2 separate regions of the Homo sapiens genome follow, and region 1 is linked to region 2. The links are contacts of gene promoters, found by promoter capture Hi-C in human tissues and cell types (Jung and others, 2019). All regions are on one chromosome and are shown on one strand. The core of a region is centred on a gene start or on the middle of the fragment in contact, and the rest is flanking DNA. Distances in the headings are between cores, read along the strand shown. Region 1 has its middle 160 kb from the start of RBFOX1. Region 2 holds the start of RBFOX1 (RNA binding fox-1 homolog 1).

Region 1 (6,376 bases), core at 2,557-5,056, 160 kb after region 2:
CAGTCATCAGAGTGTCTGCAGTGGGGGGCTGATATGATTAGAGCCGTGTTTGAGGCGGGCCATTCTGTGGACCAGCGCAGGGTGCAAAACGGACGTGGGAAACTTCCAGCAGGACTCTCTTGAAAGCTTTGTTCCAGCTATTTCCCATCCCTTTAATCATTTCCCTTCCTCTCCTTCGGTTTCTCTGCATGTGTTTGAAATCGCAAAGGCCGACATTAAGGGTTTCCTTCTCACTTGTGCTAGGAACTCAGTGGACGTGATTCCTTTTCAACTGAGATTGGAGACATAAAGAGCCTTGCCCAAGGCCACACCAGGGACTTTCAGGGGCCGGGTCTGAACTCAGGTCGAACTCCAAAGCTGCCTTTGAGACCCAGGCAGGGATTCTGCCACATGATGGAGACCTGGATTCCCTCCTGGGACTCCCACACATCAGGAGATGTCCGGACTGAGTTAATGGACAGAGGGAAGATCACTGTCCAGTCACAGCCACCTGTTCTCCCTGAACCCCTTCTGAGATGCCCAAACACTGTCTGGGGCTCTGATGCTGCAAACCAGTATGTGGTGTGTGCCTTCCATGCTGAACAGCGTGGGGCTACCCTGTATAACTTTTATAGGGTCGTGTTAGGTCTCTTTCGGAAACATGACACAAAAACAACTCAAAATGGCTCAAGCACAGGAAGGAATTTATCAGCTCATTCAAGGGATAGAGCTCACTTTAAATGGATCCAGATAAGGATCAAAGAGATTTAATTACTTCCCTGGCAAGCAGTAGAGCTGTAAACTGAACCCGGTCTCTATCATCCTAGACAGCGCTCCCTGCACAGCTCTGCAATGCTCCCATCCAAAAACCCTGACACGCAGTGGGTGACTGTCTGCTATTCCCTGGTTGGACATTATCCCTTCCCCTCTCACTGATTGATGCAGGTCACCCCATCCCTGCCTCCAGTATTTACAGTAGGGATGGCTGTGCCAACGGTGCTACAAGCGACCCGCCAGGCAGCAAGACTGAATAATCACACCCCTCCCTCAAGTGCCATCCCTGGTAGGCCTCCAGATTTCCCTCCCCACCAGCAAATGACACACCACGGTGCCGGACCGGGAAGGCTTTAACTGTGACGTCAGTGCATCTTAACTTAAACTGGCATTCCAGGTAAACACGAGGATCCGTGGCAGCATTTGGGTGATTACTTCTGTTGCTAGTCATTCACATGAAAATCTTAGATCCCCAAACCCTGAAGGAGTCTAGCAGGTCGTCTTTGCCAGACTGTCTCTGGCTTAGATAGAACTGACTTATGGAATGGTCTGACACCAGCGTATGAAATGAATGACACACATGTGGAGGTTTTTGAGCTGTAAGGACACCTCGGCCAGACACAGAGAATGGCCGTCACTCTCAGGCCTGAGAATTCCTGTCCTCTCAAGTCCAACTCTGTGTAAAACTTTAATCTCACGTACAGTATAAGACGCATCTCCTCCATTCCCCCCACAGGCAGCAACCAGAAGGACTAACTGGGGAGAATGCATGGTCTTTTCTTTCCTGACCTCTTTCCCCTTTGGTTTTCTGGTTTCATCTGTTCTGCCATTGCGTCTAAGAAGATGGGTTCAAGAGAAAGGGCAACAACATCCTTTGCACTTTGCAACAAATGAAATCATCTGCTAATGCCTCTGGTGATCAGGTGAATTCCAATAGCAACAAATGCCCTGTGTATGAAAGATGTCCAAATGCTGGCACCGTCATGGGGCATGGGTGGATTAGGGGGAGTCCTATGGGTGAAGGCTGCTTATGTTCGTCAAGGATATCTAAGCTACAGTTGCAAATAGAACCAAATGCATAACAGCCCAACACAATGGACATTCATTCCTTTCTCATGTAGGAGTCCCAGGTGGGAGAGCAAATTGAATAACAGATCTCTTCCACGTGAATATTCAGAAAATCAGAGTGAAAGAGGCTCTGCTACGCTTAAGATGTGACTTCCAAAGCCACCATCATCATCTTTGTCCCAATCTGACAGGAGGAGAATGAGTAGTGGTTTTTAGAGACCACACCCAGAAGCAGCATGCATCATTCCAGCTCACATTCAATTGTCTAGAGCTCAGTCACATAGTCACCTGTGTGGCACGGGGGTGTAAGCATGTAGCCAACCGTGTATCAAAGGGGAGAAGATGGTTCTGGTGAACAGACCCAGCTGGCTGCCCACACATCCCCACTGAAGCACTACTTTGTACAAGATCCTCCTACATGGTTCCATGATAGGAAATCCACTTCTGCTCAACCTCTCCCAAACTCTCCTGGTGATAGAATGCTGGCAGTGTGACTCCATCTCTTGACACTGAGATTGTTCACCTTGCAGCTGGTTCTCTCTGGTACACCAGCCACAAAGCTCAAACCCAGTTTCTCTTTGGTATCCCTTTAGCCTTCAGGAAACTCAGGTCCTCACCTAGCCACAAAAAGCGAGAGCAAAGCAGAGAATGAAGCTTTCTCTCTCCTCCATTCCTTTTTATCTCCACCTGCACAAATAAGCCCAGAAGAACGACCATCAAAGATGCTGCGTGAGTAGATCAGGGCCTCTTTTTGCTGGCCTCCCAGTATCTACAAGAGGAGCCCTGGAGCTTGGCTTTTTTCATGATGTTGTGGAGAAGGACGTTGACCCATGACTCATTCTTCTCTCTCTTCTTGAATCCTCTCTGATCTTCTGCTTATATAGACTAGTGGACACTAGAAATAGCACAATTGCCTTGTCCTCTTTTAGCCCTGGGGAGGTATCTGGACCTCACTATTTTGGAACTTATCATGCATAGCTTATCTCTGCAGGCAACTTTGCGTCCTAATGATCCATTTGGGGATAACAGGAAACACTGCATTCCCCTTCTCCTCTACACAGCCACCTTGACAAATGGGAGCAAGCAACAGGTTGTGAGTTCTTAAACAAACTGAGTCAACTCTTTTCTTGAACCAATTTGAATCTCTAGACTGTTTTCACAGGCACAAACAGAAAACCTTATAGTCCTATTGTCAAAAAGTGGTGAAGTAGGCCAGGCGCGGTGGCTCACGTCTGTAATCCCAGCACTTTGGGAGGTGGAGGCGGGTGGATCACGAGGTCTCCTGACCAGCCTGACCAACATGGTGAGACCCCTTCTCTGCTAAAAATACAAAAATTAGCTTGGCATGGTGGCATGCGTCTGTAATCCCAGCTACTCAGGAGGCTGAGGCAGGAGAGTCACTTGAATCCAGGAGGCGGAGGTTGCAGTGAGTTGAGATCATGCCATTGCACTCCAGCCTGGGCGACAGAGTGAGACTCCATCACAAAAAAAAAGAAATGCTGACAGTGTCCACTACTGTCTACTGGGCTGCTCTCTGGGCACCCACAGCTGAAATGTCAGAATTTTGACTATCCTAAGATAGCCTTGTTGCAGAGGCTACATCTAGGTGCTTTGGGATCAGTCCCACGGGAGCCCAGGCTTCCAGTCTTCCTGACCAATGTGCCAGTCAACTGAATTTCACCAAGAAACCTGAGTCAACTCATGCCCAGCAGGCGCTGCCTAGATTCCTGACCCACAGTATCTTGAGGTATAATAAACGGTTACTAAGTTTTAGGGATATTCTGTTACATGACCATAGATGATGACAAGTGACTTAGCCTCTCTGATTCCATAATTTTATACCTGTAAAATGGAAATAGCATTTTATAAGACTGCTGTAAGAAGCAAAACAATATGTTCAAGGTGCCTGGCATGGTTGCTGGCCAATGGTAGGCAGAGTTTTATCCTCCCTGTCACAAAACCCTGGGCACCTATGCTGTTCTTTGTGATTTTCCACTGTAAACTTTCTTCCTTTGCTGGCAAGTGATTTTCAGAACCTTCAACTTGATCTCCAGCTGGTAGAATGTGTAAGGACAAAAATGCCTGATCTTTATACGTCCTTACTCTACCATGGGAAAGTTACCTTACCTGTCTGAGGCTCAGTTTCCTTATTTAAAAAGGGACACAAAAATCTTTCTTGCTGTTTTATGTATATTCAATGGGAACGTCTGGCTTAGAGTTGGAGATTGAGAATGGATAGCTGTGGTTTTGTGAGTTCAAGGTAATCACTGTAACAGTAGCAGAAGTCCTAACATCTGATATTATGAGCCCTACCACATTCAACAGAGCCACTTGCAAACAGCCCACCTACAGGGTTGTTTTTGTTTTTGTTTTTGTTTGTGAGACAGAGTCTCGCTGTGTCGCCCAGGCTGGAGTGCCGTGGCGTGATCTCGGCTCACTGTAACCTCCACCTCCCAGGTTCAAGCAATTCTTATGCCTCAGTCTCCCAAGTAGCTGGGACCACAGGCACCCACAATCATGCCTGGCTAATTTCTGTATTTTTAGTAGAGATGGGGTTTCACCATGCAGGCTTGAACTCCTGATCTCATGTGATCTGCCCACCTCAACTTCCCAAAGGGCTGGGATTACAGGCGTGAGCCACCAGACCCGGCCCCAAAGGGGTATTTCTGAAGTAGGCAGCTTCCCCTCTCCCTATCTCTTTCTCTTCTATTCTGGCCTGGGACTTGGTTCCAGCCACTGAGCCGCCAGGACTCATCTTAAATTTTAACCATAAGTGTAAAAAAGGAAAGAGCCCATTCATGGATGATATTCATCTCCCTACCTCCCTTCCCATCTCCTACCAAATTCTGCAGGCTCCAGACATGTCCAATGAATAAATGTCTCTTAAAATTCTTCTAGAAAACGCACAAGGTTTCTCTTAATAACTCTCACTGTCAGGAATGAAATATTTACATGCACTTGCTTGAAAATTCTGGCAGCTTGTAACCTAAGAATAGTTTTACTTATGGTGCTCGGCAACTGCCTTAGGTCTATCTTGCAGACGATTTTGAGAGGAGCAAGAGGCAGAAGAGAGGAAAGAAAAAGTCACAGGGGAGGGAGGGACTGATCAGGGAGGGCCTGGCAAATCTCTGTCCTTGGTTTGCCCTTGAAGTTGGTCTATTAAGGAAGGTTAAAGCAGTCACAGTGCCGGTTTACAGGGAGTCTGAGCTGTGACAAGCCCATCAGTCACCCTGACACATGGTAGAAAACACGGGGAGATTGCAAACATTATCTGAAGCTTAATTATGAAGAAGGGAGGAGCCTGGGTTGGTGTGAGAAGTGGGTGCTGAGGCTCTCTGGGCCTTTCCCATTGTAACCTGCTGTCTTTGGGGTAAGGTGTCACCATCTAAGTTTCCTTCTAAAGAGCCCCTGGTTACTTTCTGCGGCTAGGTGCAAGGTTAGGAAAAGCTCCTAAGAGGGAGCCTTTAGCTTGCCAAATTTAGCTTGGCAATGTGGAAATACAGACAAAGATCCTTAAAAACCCTCCTTTCCACTGACCTCATACCTCTGCTTGTGGAAGTCTCTTCTACATATTGGAAATACCACAAAAAGCTTATAGCACAAAATGATATTTTATAACATTTCTTTTTTTATTTTTTGAGACAGGGTCTCACTTTGTCACCCAGGCTGGAGTACGGCAGTGCAAACACAGCTGACTGCAACCGCTGCCTCCCAGGCTCAAGGGATCCTCCCACCTCAGCCTCCCCAGTTAACTGGGACTACAGGCACTCACCACCATGCCTGGCTAAGTTTTGTGCAGTTCTTTTCTTTGTTTTTTTTTTCCTTGGTAGAGACAGGGTTTCTCTATATTGCCCAGGCTGGTCTTGAACTCCTGGGCTCAAGTGTTCTGCCCGTCTTGGCCTCCCAAAATGCTGGGAACATTTTCTATAATGGAAAAAATAGGTAACAACCTAGCTGTCTAACAACAGGGGATTCACTCAGTGTACTGGGGAGATTTGGCAATGTCTGGAGGCATATTTGGCTGTCACAGCCAGAGGTGGGAGGTTATTACAGGCCCAGGTCATTTTATTGCACTTCATTTTATTATACTTCACAGACACTGCTTGCTCTTTAATCAATTAAAGCTTTACGGCAACCCTGTGTCAAGCAAGTCTATCAGTGCCATTTTCCCAACAGTGTGTGTATACCTCATGTCTCTGTGGCACATTTTGGTAATACCTGCAATATTTAAAATTTTTTCATGATTATTACATCTGTTACAGTTATCTGTGATCAGTGATCTTTGATACTGCTATTGTAATTGTTTTGGAGTGCTGTGAACTTCTCCCATAGGATGGGAGGTTTACCTGATAAATGTAGTGTGTGTTCTGACTATTTCGCAAACCAGCTGTTCCCCATCTTTCCCTCTCTCCTCAGGTCTCCCTATTCTCTGAGACACAATAATACTGAAATCAGGTCAGTGAATAATCCTACCATGACCTTTAAGTGTTCAAGTGAAAGAAAGAGTCACATGTTTCTCACCTTGAATCAAAAACTAATGATTAAACTTTGTGAG
Region 2 (6,358 bases), core at 1,439-3,938:
CTGAGCCATAAAGCTCCACTCTCTGGACCCCTAAGGTGTCACTTCCACTACCGCGAGGAATGATGACTTTTCTTCCTAACCCGAGGCAACCATAAGCTAACTTAAGGAAAGCCCAGGGGATTCTTCCAAACGGAGGGCCTCCCTGACGAGCTCAAAGAGGACACAGGTTTTGAGTCAGCCCCACTTTTTACCAGCACAGCCACTGCCAGCACCACCTTTACCCTTCACAGGCCCCAGGTCCTTTGCTTCTGAACATAAAAGATCTTAGCTAAAAATAAATCTGCCAGTAGCTCCAGCCGGGGCCTCTGTGGTCACTTAAAAATTGAAAGAATCCAGGCCCTCTCATCTTTTTTTTCTCTCTTTTGTAACAAAGATAAAATGATAAATGGAGGGGAGATGAACTAGGACAGGGGGCAGGGAAGGGATGGCAGGCTGGGGCATGTCCTAAACTTGGGCTGTCAAGGCCAGGCCTCTCTGCACAACGGAGTTTAAAAATAAAAATAAACAATCATTATTCTAATAAAGGAAAACCCAAGTTAGGAGACATGATGTTTCAACTCAACAAAGCTATTTCACCACACTCCCCCACTTCTTTTCAAGTTCAACTGAAAAGATCCGCCTTTGGGGTGCCAATTGCCCGGACTGCCTGACCAGGATTTCCAAGCTCTTCAGTAGCCGCACCCCAGATGTTCCAGTGCCAGCAGGTGCACCCCAGCTCTGGCCCACACAGGAGCGATGAGCTCTCCCAGCCCCCTGACCATTCCCTGGCAGCAAGGAATGGAGCTGGGGGCTCCAGGACAAGGTTAGATCGGGGTCTTCCCCTCCCTTGCTGAGTGGACAGCTTCCGGGCTCCGCGTGACACCTGGTCCCCGCAGCTGGCGCCAGGGAGGCTCCAGGAGCTCACAGCCAAGTGGCCTCCTGGGCGGTGGGGAGATGGGAGCGGCGCCCCACTAGCCCCGCCCTCGCTTCCATAGCTGGACAATTGGTTGATTGGAGCTGACAAGCCCCCCCCTGGCCTGCACAACAACACAGGGCTAAGATCTGCTACCCCTGTGTTTCCTTCTCTGGGGTGAAGGTTCTCTAAGGCTCCCAGGAACCAGGGGCACAGTAGGAGTTTCCCATTCGCAGGTTTCCCGGCTGGCCCCCTCCCCTGGGGTCGAGGTGGCACCGCGGGGCATCGATTCCAGTGCCAGTAAACACAGCGGCGCTTTCTCCACATAAGTGAGCCTTCTCTTCCCCTCCTCCCACAAGGGGTTCGGGGCACCTAAACACCCTCCCGGGTCACTAAGATGCCTCCTCCTGCACACCCTGCGGGCGGAGGCAGCGGTCCGGGGGCGCGCTGAGTGCACGCTTGCAGCCGGCCAGGGAGACTAATCAAAGTGCGCAGGCAGGCTCCCGCTGCTCCTGGCACCTAGGACTCGCTCCCAGGAGGACGGACGAGGTAGCCTGGATGCTTCGGAGGGGCGCTCTGGGGCAAGGAAGGACGTGCTTCTGGAAGCGACGCACAAGGGGGCTCAGGGTCTCGGCCTCCTGGGGGTAGGGGGGGACACGCCTCGAGATCTTTCCACACACCCTGAAAAAGTTCCCGTCCAGAGCGCCCAGACTGGCGCTAGGAGGAGGCCAGTTCTCGGGGACCTAGCGCTTCCCTCCATGAGACCTTCTGGACCTGACCCACCAGGTCAGGGTGGGTGCAGAGGCAATGACTCCGCCTGGACTTACCTAGAACTCCCGGCGAGCCCGGCTGCGGTCACGTTCTCGGCCCCAGACCCCCGAATTCCCGTGCGCTCTCTGCACCCCCAGCCACACTCACCATAAGCTGGAGGCGGCGGAAGGGGGTGCTGGTTTCTCACGCACTGTCCGCAACTTCGCGGGCAGGTCAGCCCCGCCCTGGCGCGCCTGCCTGGGCGCGGCGAGGGTCCGGACAGGCGGGGACCCTGGCGGCCACTGGGTGGGGGTCTGGAGCGCAAGGACTCTCAATCCCGGGCGCGCGGTCCGCTCCTGCTCTCTCTGCCTGGGCAAGAAGCTCGGAGTTCTCCTGCTCCGGACGCCGGGGCGGGGCCCACGGCTGGCTGTCCCCTCCAGATGTGGGGTGCTCGGCTCGGCTCACTCCTTCCTTCTTCAGCCCCGGAGGCGCGCGCGTGGGTCCAGCCAGTGCCGCCGCCTCTGCTGTTCCCGGGGCTGGCAGAGCGCCCCCGCCCCACCGCGGGTGCTGCTGGGGGGCTGGGGCGGAGGGGGAGGGATTCCCCTCCGCGAGTTCGGGTTTCCCCACCCGACGCGGCCCCTGGGCTCCGTCCGCCGTCCGCCACCCTCCGCGCTGCTTGGAGAACCACTTCAGGGCAGCGCAGCCAGTCCCACCGACTCTGGCTGGAGGAGGCGGCGGCAGCGCGGCTCGCACGGGGACTGGAAAGGAGGTGACCTTCAAACCCCGCGCTCGGGAGACCAGGAAGGGGGCTGGGGTGATCGAGGGAGCGGTGTGTGCACCCAGACGGCCAGCAAGAGCGCTTGTAGGAGGGCGGGAGAGAATAAAGAGGAAATCTTCCAGTAAAAATATAGATTAGAAAATAAACAAAGGAGAGCCGGAGAGAGCGCGAGAAAATGTGTGCATGTGTGTGTGTGCGTGTGTGTCTGTGTGTGTGTGAGCGCGCGACAAGCAGCGAGCAGCCCCGGCTGCGGAGCCAAAAATAATCTGGTGCGCGAGGGAGCGCCCCCTCCCCCTTCCCCTCGCCAGCGCCGCCGCCGCCGCGGTCACGCGTGCAGCCCTGGATTCCAGCGGGCGGCGGCGGCGGACACGCGACCCGGTACCCTGGTCTCCTGGCCTAAAGGGGACAGAGGGTGAAAGTTGGATGCTGGGGCAATGAGCCCAGGACTTTCACCTGCGCCCGTCCTCGTCCTGGTAGTCCCCAGGTGGGCTCACTCATTGAGCACCAGCGCCCTCCTCCCAACCCCAATCAAAGTAGACAAATCCCCCACTAGAGACGCCAAGTGGAGGCAGCTTCTTGCCCCAGTCCATTTCTTCTCTGAGGAAGTTTTCTGGCAAGTCTTCAAATCTTCCGGCCAGGCAGAGATCGAGCCCTATCCAAGATTCAAAAAGTTCTCCAGGCTGGATGGGATGCAGGGCTGGGGTGGGTGCGGCTGGCCTGGGACGCCCCCACCCCGCACAGCTGGGCCTCTCCTGTCCTGCCCCCTTCCTGGCCACCTACTCCCGCAATGGACGCTGAAGGGGTCTAGGGATTGTCCTCCTAGCAGATGTCTTACAGCCAGAAGCCCCATGACGCCTTAATACACACTAGCACTTAATAAGCATTTACTTTCCACCAGATGCTGTTTTAAGCACTTTACATGGAGTCTTTTCAACAACTGGAAGTAGATACTGGAGGTTTATCCATTTCACAGATGCTTAGAGAGATTAAAGCAATATTTCTCCCTTCCTGGGTCCCACTCTGGACTGGAGTGAGAAACTCTGCTCTTCCCCTACCTTTTCCTTTCCCTCCCTCCCTTCCTTCCTCCCTCCCTTTCTTCCTTCCTCCTTTCCTCCCTTCCTTCCTTTCTCCCTTCCTCTTTTTTCCACAAATATTCCAGGGGGTTTTGTTGTACAATAAAGTCAGTCTGAGGTTCAGTGAGTTGTAATTTGTTCAAGGTCACATAGCTGGCAAGGAACCAGGACTCCCCAGGCAGTCTACCTCATTTTATGTGGCACCACCCTGCCTTCTGAAGGGCAGGTGGCATTGGACAAGGCCAGATTCCAGCCTTGAGCACTTGATCTGAGGCGCCTGTTCATTTTCCCATCCTGTGATGTGACTGTGTTTGCACTTATACCATGGATCCTCTTATAAGAAATGCTGTAAGCTTTCCAAAACAGGGGGCCATGTGATGTGCATTCCTTTGTACTAGATGTACGTGTATTTCCTAGCGCCCATCAAGGAGCAGATTCCTTAAGGGTTCCTCTTGCAATCCTATCGGGCTGCGGTTTCTTTCAACCTCAGAATAAAAGAAAGGGAACTTCTGCCTATAACTATATTACTTTTTAAAGCACGCAATATTTAATCATCATTTGAAAAAGTAAGTTTGCAAAATCCAGAAAGATATCTTTATCATTGGTCCCAGCGATTTTGCAATTTGGGTTGATTTTTACCATATGTTTCCTTAGGATTCTCTTTGATAATAATATATTTGTATGTAAGCAATTTTTTTTTCTTTATACTAGTCTCATCCTTCAGTGATAGCAAAATGAAACCATAAATCTGGGTTGGTAACATCATAATCATTTCCCCCAGAAACTGTTCACAATGGGAAAACCGCCGAATTTAAATGTAATTGTCTAGCCATGCAGGGAGATGAGATGGGTTGTAAAAGAGGTATTCTCAATTTAAAAGCAAATTATCAATAATGATAGAAGAAATAAATGGCAGTTAACGGGAAATTCTGTTGGAATATACTGTTTTGTGCAAATTCACCAACAGGAATTGTTTGTCTATTCTCCTTCATTTTTTATTCCAGAAAGGAACAAATGAATGCAATCATTCAAGGCAGTAACATCAGCTGTTGTTACATTAAAATGGGTAATTGCTGGGCCCTTTGATTATTTTTAATACATATATATATTTACCATTGGAAATAAAACATATTCATCTATCTGAAAATCAAGTTCAGCTTGAGTCTGCTCTGATTTATTTATTGTAGAGTAGAAATAGGCTTAGATAGATTAGTGATGAGTGTCAGGCATGACTCACTGGTACCTGTATTGCTACATGGCTTAAGAATATGAGTGTGAGAGGCATCCATTACAATTTAAAACAAAATTAGAGTAAAGATCAATATGGCATGCCATTATGCTATTCATTTGGAAAGTATTAGTTTCTTTCTCACAATGACCTTTCGCATTCCAAGTAGAGTTTTTCCTGTCATTTCTCCATGTTGAGCCACTGGAAGATAAATGAGAGGTGCTGAAGTTGACAGCTCCCAGGACAACCTAGGGCCAAGAATCGCCCTGCTATGGTTAGAAAGAACCTGGAGACTTTGGCTCCTCCTACTGGACATGAAAAATACTTTCCAATTTGTGATCTAAGCAAATGTCAAAAATGGTACCTTTCATAAAGCTGGTTTAAAAAGAACAAGGACTTTGTAGCCTTGTGCTTGGCTGAGAGCTCTCTAAAGTGTAAATTTCATCATCTTACTTTAAAACTTAGGATCTTCCTATAGCTCTTCATTATTCCCCAGGATAAGGTCTAAAGTTGTCCATGTGGTTTACCAGCTCCTGGCTCTTTTTAAGTTCACTCTGTGACCCAGGAGGGCTTTTCTCTTGTTGTATCCAATCTTTTGTATATGTTGTTCCTCCAACCAGGAATACCCTTACATACTCTCTTTTCCTGGATAGCTTCTGTTTAGTTTTTAGATCTCCATTTCAATATCACTTTCTCCCTGCCAATCCCTCAACTCCCTACCCAGCCCCCCATAGGCACAGATAAGGTGTTCTTGCGAACTCCTCTAACACCTCCATTTACCTTTACCCTGTCATTTGTCTCAGCTTACTGTAAATGTTGTTCTCTTCTATTAAACTAAAAGGTCTTTACATCAAAGATTTGTTCCCTGATGCACAGCACCAGCCACATAATAAGCTCAATAAATGATAGGTGAACCTTCCTTCTTTCCTGCAGTAGATTGCTGTCTAAATGGGCTAACCACTTTGGAATGAAATGAGAAGTCAACCTGCTCATCCATTTATGTAGTCCTTTGTTCTTTCAGTCATCAAACATGCATCCTTCTTGAGGCTAGTCCCCCATGTAAACCATTTAGTATATAAACTAGACTCAATTTCTGCACTCGAGAAGCGTACAGTCCAATAGCATATGCAGACACATAAATGAGTGATTGCAACTGTCTTGAAACATTTGGCCAATACGGAGCAGGAGCCTATAGCCAGATATGGCAGAAGGGCAGAAGGTCAGGCAAAGCATTCTAGAGAAGATCGTGTCTAAATAGAGAAGATAAATAGGAATTCCACAGAGAGTTGGGTGATGGATATTCCCGAAGGAGAATACAGCTTATGAAAGTGCCTGAAGCAAAACAGCATAGCTCCTTCTAGGAACAGCAAATCTGTTCAATATAAATAGAGTCCTGTTGAAGTTAAGGGGCTGGACAATGGTGAAAGAGCCAAGAGAGTAGAAGCTGGAACTAAAGATATGGGCTAGGGAAGGCCCAAGGCAGGCTCTGAAATGATTTGTAAGGCGTATTTGCTTTACCACAGGCAGTGGAGAGTGACTGGTTAGCTTTTCAAGATGCACCATTACCATAATGATTTCCACTGCCAGTGCTCTGGGCTTCACTCTGCCTTCACTGATGTTTCAATGACCATTTTCTC

The links. The method cuts DNA at HindIII sites, captures the fragments that hold promoters and counts their contacts. A contact is called where the count stands out against the background at its distance.
Region 1: a contact is called between a fragment that was not itself captured here and the fragment with the promoter of RBFOX1 in region 2, in 2 of the 25 tissues and cell types used here (H1 embryonic stem cells and dorsolateral prefrontal cortex).

Annotation. Positions count from the first base shown.
Region 1 is chr16:5,857,030-5,863,405 of GRCh38, reverse strand. It overlaps a transcript of RBFOX1 not described here. Among named protein-coding and RNA genes, the nearest start is that of RBFOX1, 160 kb to the left of the region's middle. The HindIII fragment of the contact is 5,009 bases long and covers 1,302-6,310 here.
Region 2 is chr16:6,015,354-6,021,711 of GRCh38, reverse strand. RBFOX1 (RNA binding fox-1 homolog 1) reads right to left here and starts at 2,688. Exons shown (of 16, transcript NM_018723.4): 1 at 1,720-2,688. The HindIII fragment of the contact is 10,336 bases long and covers 1-5,946 here.